2 separate regions of the Homo sapiens genome follow, and region 2 is linked to region 1. The links are contacts of gene promoters, found by promoter capture Hi-C in blood cells and fetal thymus (Javierre and others, 2016). All regions are on one chromosome and are shown on one strand. Each heading gives the region's core, a stretch centred on a gene start or on the middle of the fragment in contact. The rest is flanking DNA. Distances are from core to core; before and after follow the strand shown.

What was found. Contacts are between HindIII fragments. The CHiCAGO score rates a contact against its expected background, and 5 or more counts as called.
Region 2: the fragment with the promoter of OR1N2 here is called in contact with the fragment with the promoter of OR1J1 in region 1 in 1 of 17 cell types (neutrophils); the score reaches 5.6 in neutrophils.

Annotation. Positions count from the first base shown.
Region 1 is chr9:122,475,587-122,479,287 of GRCh38, forward strand. It overlaps OR1J1 (olfactory receptor family 1 subfamily J member 1), which reads right to left and starts at 2,340. Exons shown (of 1, transcript NM_001004451.1): 1 at 1,372-2,340. The coding sequence starts at 2,340. The coding sequence ends at 1,372. It also overlaps a transcript of OR1J2 not described here. The HindIII fragment of the contact is 5,266 bases long and covers 1-3,701 here.
Region 2 is chr9:122,551,585-122,555,090 of GRCh38, forward strand. OR1N2 (olfactory receptor family 1 subfamily N member 2) reads left to right here and starts at 1,528. Exons shown (of 1, transcript NM_001004457.2): 1 at 1,528-2,630. The coding sequence starts at 1,628. The coding sequence ends at 2,578. It also overlaps a transcript of OR1J2 not described here and a transcript of OR1L8 not described here. The HindIII fragment of the contact is 1,550 bases long and covers 643-2,192 here.

The DNA of each region.
Region 1 (3,701 bases), core at 1,090-3,589:
TAGATTGAGAGGCTCAAGTGTTACGATATTGATTATTATTATTATTTCCTATCAATATCTTCATTTTGTGTGTCACAATTCACTTTAATATCTGTTGTCTCCCAGGTCTTGGTGCCTCAGTTGAAACTTCCAATTTAACATCCTGACACACACTACTCCCTCTTCCTGTGATCATCAGAACAAGATAAAACCTTGTGTGTCTGGATAGTTCTCATCTGTTAAGATTCAGGTAAAGAAACGCCTTCTTTGGGAAGTTGTTTATATCCTCTTCCATCAGACTGAGCTAATTATTCCTCTTCAAACCCACACAGTGTTCCATGTAAACTATTATAGTCTTTGCTACACTGAGTCACTCTGGAATCAGATGCCAAGATTCAAGTCTTCCTTTCACGAACTATATGATCTTGGGGTATTCTTCCCCTTTTAGAGCCTGAGTTTTTTAAACTTACCTTTTGGAGTTTTTGTCAGAATTAAGTTAGATGATTTTAAGGTATATTAAGTTCTTAGATCAGTCCCTGAGAGAACTGAGGTGACATTTATTTTGTCACTGAACATCTGTATGTGTTTGGGGAGAAAGGAAGTGTGGGCTATATTCTGGAAGGACAAGACAGCAGTGTGTTAATTATTATGTAAGGAGTGAGAAATGTCATATGTTTTTCTTAAAATTTCTGAAAGGGCTTCAGCTTCCTGGATATCTGGTGCCTGGGCGAAAGAGGAGCCATATCTTCACAAAAGTGGAAAATTCCTAAGAAATAGAGGTGTGAAGGGCCAGACACATTTTATAACAAATTTAAAATCTGGGAAAGGTCAGCCCTGATGGCTTCCTTTTCATACCAGCCAAAGTGACATAACATGCTCAGAATATTTTCCAATTCCATTACCCAAGAAAAGAGCAAACAAAGTCCTATACAACATATCCTATTTTACTATTCCCTCAAACAGATGCAATAATAATATCAGGAAAGCATTTCAGAGTGACAGCTGTGGAAGAAAGACAAGTGAGCTATATTTTCAATAATTTGTATTTCTGTATTATTGAGGAAAAATATTACATGGGATGTTTTAAAAGAAAGGTAAATATCAGTTAGAATAATGGTTTTTTTTTACTCAATAATTTTTTTTTCTTTTTTCTTTTTTTTGACAGAGTCTTGCTCTGTCACCCAGGCTGGAGTGCAGTGGCACGATCTTGGCTCACTGCAACCTCCGCCTCCTGGGTTCAAGTGATTCTTCTGCCTCAGTCTCCCGAGTAGCTGGGACTATAGGCATGCACCACCATGCCCGGCTAATTTTTTTGTATTTTTAGTAGAGACTGGGTTTCGCCATGTTGGCCAGGCTGGTCTCGAACTCCTGATCTCAGGTGATCCGTCTGCCTCAGCCTCCCAAAGTGTTGAGATTACAGGCATGAGCCACTGCGCCTGACCTACTCAAGAGTTTTCTTAGGGCTCCCTTAATGTCTTTATTTCTCAGACTGTAAATGAATGGGTTCAACATGGGAGTGACTGCTGTGTATATCACTGAAGCAATTATGTTCTTGTCATTGGTGTTGCTGGATGGGGGAAGAAAATAGAGACCAATAATTGTCCGATAATAGATAGTCACCACTGAGAGGTGGGATCCACAAGTGGACAAGGCTTTGCATATGCCCTTGGTAGAGGGAATCTGGAGGATGGTGACCCCAATGTGACCATAAGAAACCAGGATGCACAGGAATGGAAGCATAATGGCTGTCAATGCTGCTGTAAAGATTGCTAACTGATTGAGGGAGGTGTCTGAGCAGGACAACTTGAGCAGGGCACCAAGGTCACAGAAGTAGTGAGGGATGATGTGGTCAGCACAGAAGGAAAGCTGGGCCAGGAGGAGGGTATGCAAAAGAGCACACGCACAAGCGATGACCCAGGACCCAGCCACCAGCATGACACACTGGCTCTGAGTCATGATGGTGGCATAATGTAGAGGATGACAGATGGCCACATACCTGTCATATGCCATTGAAGTGATAAGGAAACTGTCTAAGTCAGCAAAAAATATGAAAAAATATGTCTGTGAAATGCATCCCTTGTAAAAGACGGCTAGGTGCTGAGTCTGCATGTTCATCAGCATCTTAGGGACAGTGACAGATGAAAAGGAGATGTCAGTGAGGGCCAAGTGGCTAAGGAAGAAGTACATGGGGGTGTGAAGGTGAGAGTCTAGCTGGATGAGCAGCATGATGAGCAGGTTCCCCAGCACCGTGGTCAGGTACATGCCCAGGAACAGGGCGAAGAACACGGCCTGCTGCTCTGGCCGGATGGGGAGGCCCAGGAGGAGGAACTCGGACACGCTGCTCTGGTTCTCAGGGCTCATGTTTATATCAGCTGGAGGGCACTAGGGAAATTTGAAGGAAAAAAATGGTATGTCTTGGAATAAGAAATGATAACTGTGGCATAGTATAATAGAGATGTTCTTTTGACTTAGAGAATGTCTTCATATTTTCTTACATTTGCCACATATTTTGCTGCAAATGTGCTGAAAAAGAAATGAAGGTTTAGTCGATATAGCTACTTTCTTTCTGAATCTGGTCTCTGTAAATGATAGTACTAAAAGTTGTTTGCTAAATGTTTTTTAATACACTGTTCCAATAGCTGATGTATTGTAAGTGATTCAATAGCCTTCAATATATGAGCTGGGTGGTACTGTTATTATTTCTACTCTTTAGATGTGAAAGCTAAGGCAGACAGTCTTATAGTCACAGCAATAGGAAGAGGAGAAGCTGGGATTTGGACCGAAGTATCTTGACTCCATAGTTTCTTCTGTGGAAACAAAGCAATTATTTGACATTGGAAATCTCATTGCCTTATTTTGTGTGCAATGACCTATTTAATTCTGTATACCCTGCTTGTCTACACAGTGCATGATTATTTCTAATTTATTCATTGTTTATAGACCCCTAATCTTTTTTTAAGACATAACACTTTATTTATTAAAAAACTCTTCCATGTAAACAATTACTCCAAAAGACAACAAAACAAGTTATTTTGAGTGATTTTTCAAAGGACATACCCACATATTTTATCATGATATATATGTACTATTCTAGAAGGTGGGGAGGGTGGTACTGTTGAAAGTCCAGGTAAATAAATCATAATACGAAGTAAGCAACAAGATAGAAAATCTTTCTTATGGTTTCAGATCCATACATAATTGCTCTGATCTTTTTTTGTTTGTTTGTTTGTTTGAGACAGAGTCTCGCTCTGTTGCCAAGGCTGGAGTGCAGTGGTGAGATCTCGGCACACTGTAACCTCCGCCTCCTGGGTTCAAGCGATTCTTCCAGCTAATTTTTTATTTTTAGTAGAGACGGAGTTTCACCATGTTGGTCAGGCTGGTCTCGAACTCCTGACCTCATGATCCACCCGCCTCAGCCTCCCAGAGTGCTGGGGTTACAGGTGTGAGCCACTGCACCCAGCCTAATTGCTCTGATCTTTTTAAAGTTTAAGATAAGTGTAAGATATTTAATTCTATGTTTGAATATCAATGTGTAGCGCGAAAACATATATATATTCCTCCAGGCTCAACCACACATGTGACAATGTCTCTTGGGGACGCAGCGGTGAATTCCTCTCACAGTATGTCTAAGGAGCATTGGCTCAGTGAGATTTCACATTCAGTGGATTTCAGCCATCTCATCAATTTCTCCATGCTACTGAAATCTCATTGTTCCACTCAGA
Region 2 (3,506 bases), core at 278-2,777, 75 kb after region 1:
ACCTGCTAGTCAGGCTGAAGTACACTGCATTGCCAGCAAGAGGCTTCAGAATCACATTCCCGAGACCCACATTTGAGATCTTAACCCCTGGGAAAGAGAGGTCCTCAGCTCCCCTAGGATCCAGCCAGAGTTGGCTGGAGAACAGGCTGCACAATGACACCGAGGTCGACCTTAACGAGCACATTGGGAGATGGTGTTCTAGGAGCCTTTATAACCTTAAGAGATATTCCTGTCTTCTTATGCCCGGGGAAGCTGAAATCGAGCCATACACTTCAGGTATTTCTAATAAACTCTGGACTCAATAGACCCCGACTTTATTGCCTCTGAGTCAGAAAGGTCTCAGAGTTTTTTATTATGAATTATCCATCCAAGGAAGAGAATTGGAGAATTTGAAGATGCCTAAAACTGATCCATAATCTGACAGGTGAGGATTTGGAAGGGGTAGGACACATACACACACACACACACATACACTCTCTCTCTCTCTCTCTCTCTCACACACACACACATATACACCTTCCTTCCCAGTTCGATGATCAGGTGACCAGGCAAAAGTTTCCTGGGAAAGTGCTGAGTCTCTGCCTAAGGTCAGAAGCTTCTCTATGAACCAAAGAACAAATGGAGGACTAAAATAGTTACAAAAGCTTCTAAGGCCAAACTTCTACAAGATCAATATGAAATGGTTTCTCCTACCAGCTCACTAGGGCAGCAAAAAAACAGACTGGTTATTTTCAAACCAAAAAGTCAGGGCGATACCTTTCACCTTCCCTCCCTCTGGTTAAAAGTAAATATTAGATAAATGTAGTACAAATGTAGGGGTGAAGGCACAGGTGAACTAAAATATCAGTTCCCAGAGCAGATAGAGATGCATAGCAGCAAAAAAGGGAAGAGGACAGGGATAAAGGAGAGGAAGTGATGGAAGGGAGAGAGTGGCTCCCTGTCCTATTTGTATGCGTGTGTGTGGGAGGGAACATCCTAACAGTGGATGGGGGAGTACGACACCAGACACCTACTGCCCTCAGCTCACATATCCTTTGCCGCTAGTTAGGAAAGAGTACAGGACTGGTTTGAATGGGTGAGGTCAAATTCTCAGCACTGAAAGGCAAGTGGGGAGGAAGCTATCTTGTCTTAAAAGTCAATTTCAGCCCCCACAAAGAGGGCTTGAGTGTGTGTGTGTGTGTGTGTGTGTGTGTGTGTGTGTGTGTGTGTGTGTTGGAGGAGGGGTAGGAGTTTGATGGAGATCATGCATCTTCTTTCCAATTGACAATAACAAATGGCTTTTCTAATCTTGCCATCAAGCTATTCTCAATTCTCACTTCCTCTAAATAGCCCATGCCAATTTCTCTGGTCAAACAAATCTCTTTTCTTTGGATTCTGCTATAGCATACAAAGCACAATTGAGATTTGAATGGATATTATCTTAACTGTTCTCTAAATGTCTCTTGGGTATTTCCTTGCATTCCCAGTGAGATTCAGAGATTCTTATTGGCAAAGACCATTTATTTTTCTTTTCTTTTTCTCCCAGCACAGTTCTGGCCACACAGATGCATATCTGTAAATTGATCTAATAAATAAATACTGACACATGGAAGGTTTTTATCTGCGCAGATCACACGAACTACAAGGGATGGGAAAACCAGGCAGAGTGAACCAAACCACTGTTTCAGACTTCCTCCTTCTAGGACTCTCTGAGTGGCCAGAGGAGCAGCCTCTTCTGTTTGGCATCTTCCTTGGCATGTACCTGGTCACCATGGTGGGGAACCTGCTCATTATCCTGGCCATCAGCTCTGACCCACACCTCCATACTCCCATGTACTTCTTTCTGGCCAACCTGTCATTAACTGATGCCTGTTTCACTTCTGCCTCCATCCCCAAAATGCTGGCCAACATTCATACCCAGAGTCAGATCATCTCGTATTCTGGGTGTCTTGCACAGCTATATTTCCTCCTTATGTTTGGTGGCCTTGACAACTGCCTGCTGGCTGTGATGGCATATGACCGCTATGTGGCCATCTGCCAACCACTCCATTACAGCACATCTATGAGTCCCCAGCTCTGTGCACTAATGCTGGGTGTGTGCTGGGTGCTAACCAACTGTCCTGCCCTGATGCACACACTGTTGCTGACCCGCGTGGCTTTCTGTGCCCAGAAAGCCATCCCTCATTTCTATTGTGATCCTAGTGCTCTCCTGAAGCTTGCCTGCTCAGATACCCATGTAAACGAGCTGATGATCATCACCATGGGCTTGCTGTTCCTCACTGTTCCCCTCCTGCTGATCGTCTTCTCCTATGTCCGCATTTTCTGGGCTGTGTTTGTCATCTCATCTCCTGGAGGGAGATGGAAGGCCTTCTCTACCTGTGGTTCTCATCTCACGGTGGTTCTGCTCTTCTATGGGTCTCTTATGGGTGTGTATTTACTTCCTCCATCAACTTACTCTACAGAGAGGGAAAGTAGGGCTGCTGTTCTCTATATGGTGATTATTCCCACGCTAAACCCATTCATTTATAGCTTGAGGAACAGAGACATGAAGGAGGCTTTGGGTAAACTTTTTGTCAGTGGAAAAACATTCTTTTTATGATTAGACATCTAGACGGTGATGTCTAATCTTGATCAACCCCTCCCTGTCTTCCATCACTTCAGTAATTCTACTACTGTCATGTTGATATTAGGGGAAGGTTATCCGTTGACTCTGAGTTAGGGATGTAAAAAAAAAAAAAAGAGTGTTTCATTCTTTTATTAGGCTGTGGAATGAGATGTTCTGTCTCAGCCTCTTTCCTGACCCCAGTGAGGCAACCATTACTAACAGCAAAACTACTATTCCTCCTCACATCTCTAAAACCAGCATATTAGCCATAGTGAACAAGGCATTTGTTATGAGGCTCTGGAGCTGAGCAATTCTACCCCAGCAAGGCAGGCATGGGATGAGGTGAAGGAAGGAGAATAGAAACATTTATTGACTATCCACAATGTTCCTCATTATTCCTTACATCAGTTACTTTAGGTAGAATTGTGAAAACTGTGAATTAGGATGCTAAATAACTTAACAAGTCAATTTATGCCTATCGACTCCCTTTCTATTTTACCACTTTGTGAGGATCATGACAAGGAAGGTGTGAGTGTACATCTAAGGTTAATATTGAATGATAACAATAGGAGAAAAAGAATTAATATATGTTATGGTATTCCTTACTATTTCATTTCTTTAACTTAAAAGCACTCTTCTGTTGTAGTAAATAGATTAAAAGTAATCAATATTTGTTGTACACCTACTAGTGCCAGATTTGTACTAACTACACCATCCGTTCTCTGAATTCTTTCATAAAATATTCTAGAATCAAAAATGATAAATCAAGCATGCTGGAAATTTTTAGGGCAATAATTTGATGCAAAGCAATCTGGTGGAAACTGATATTATGAGAAGTCACAAAGCTTAACAATGGTTTTCTTTTTGCAATGAAATTCTAGGTTATCAATTTCTTCTTTATAGCTACATGTTTTGAAACATG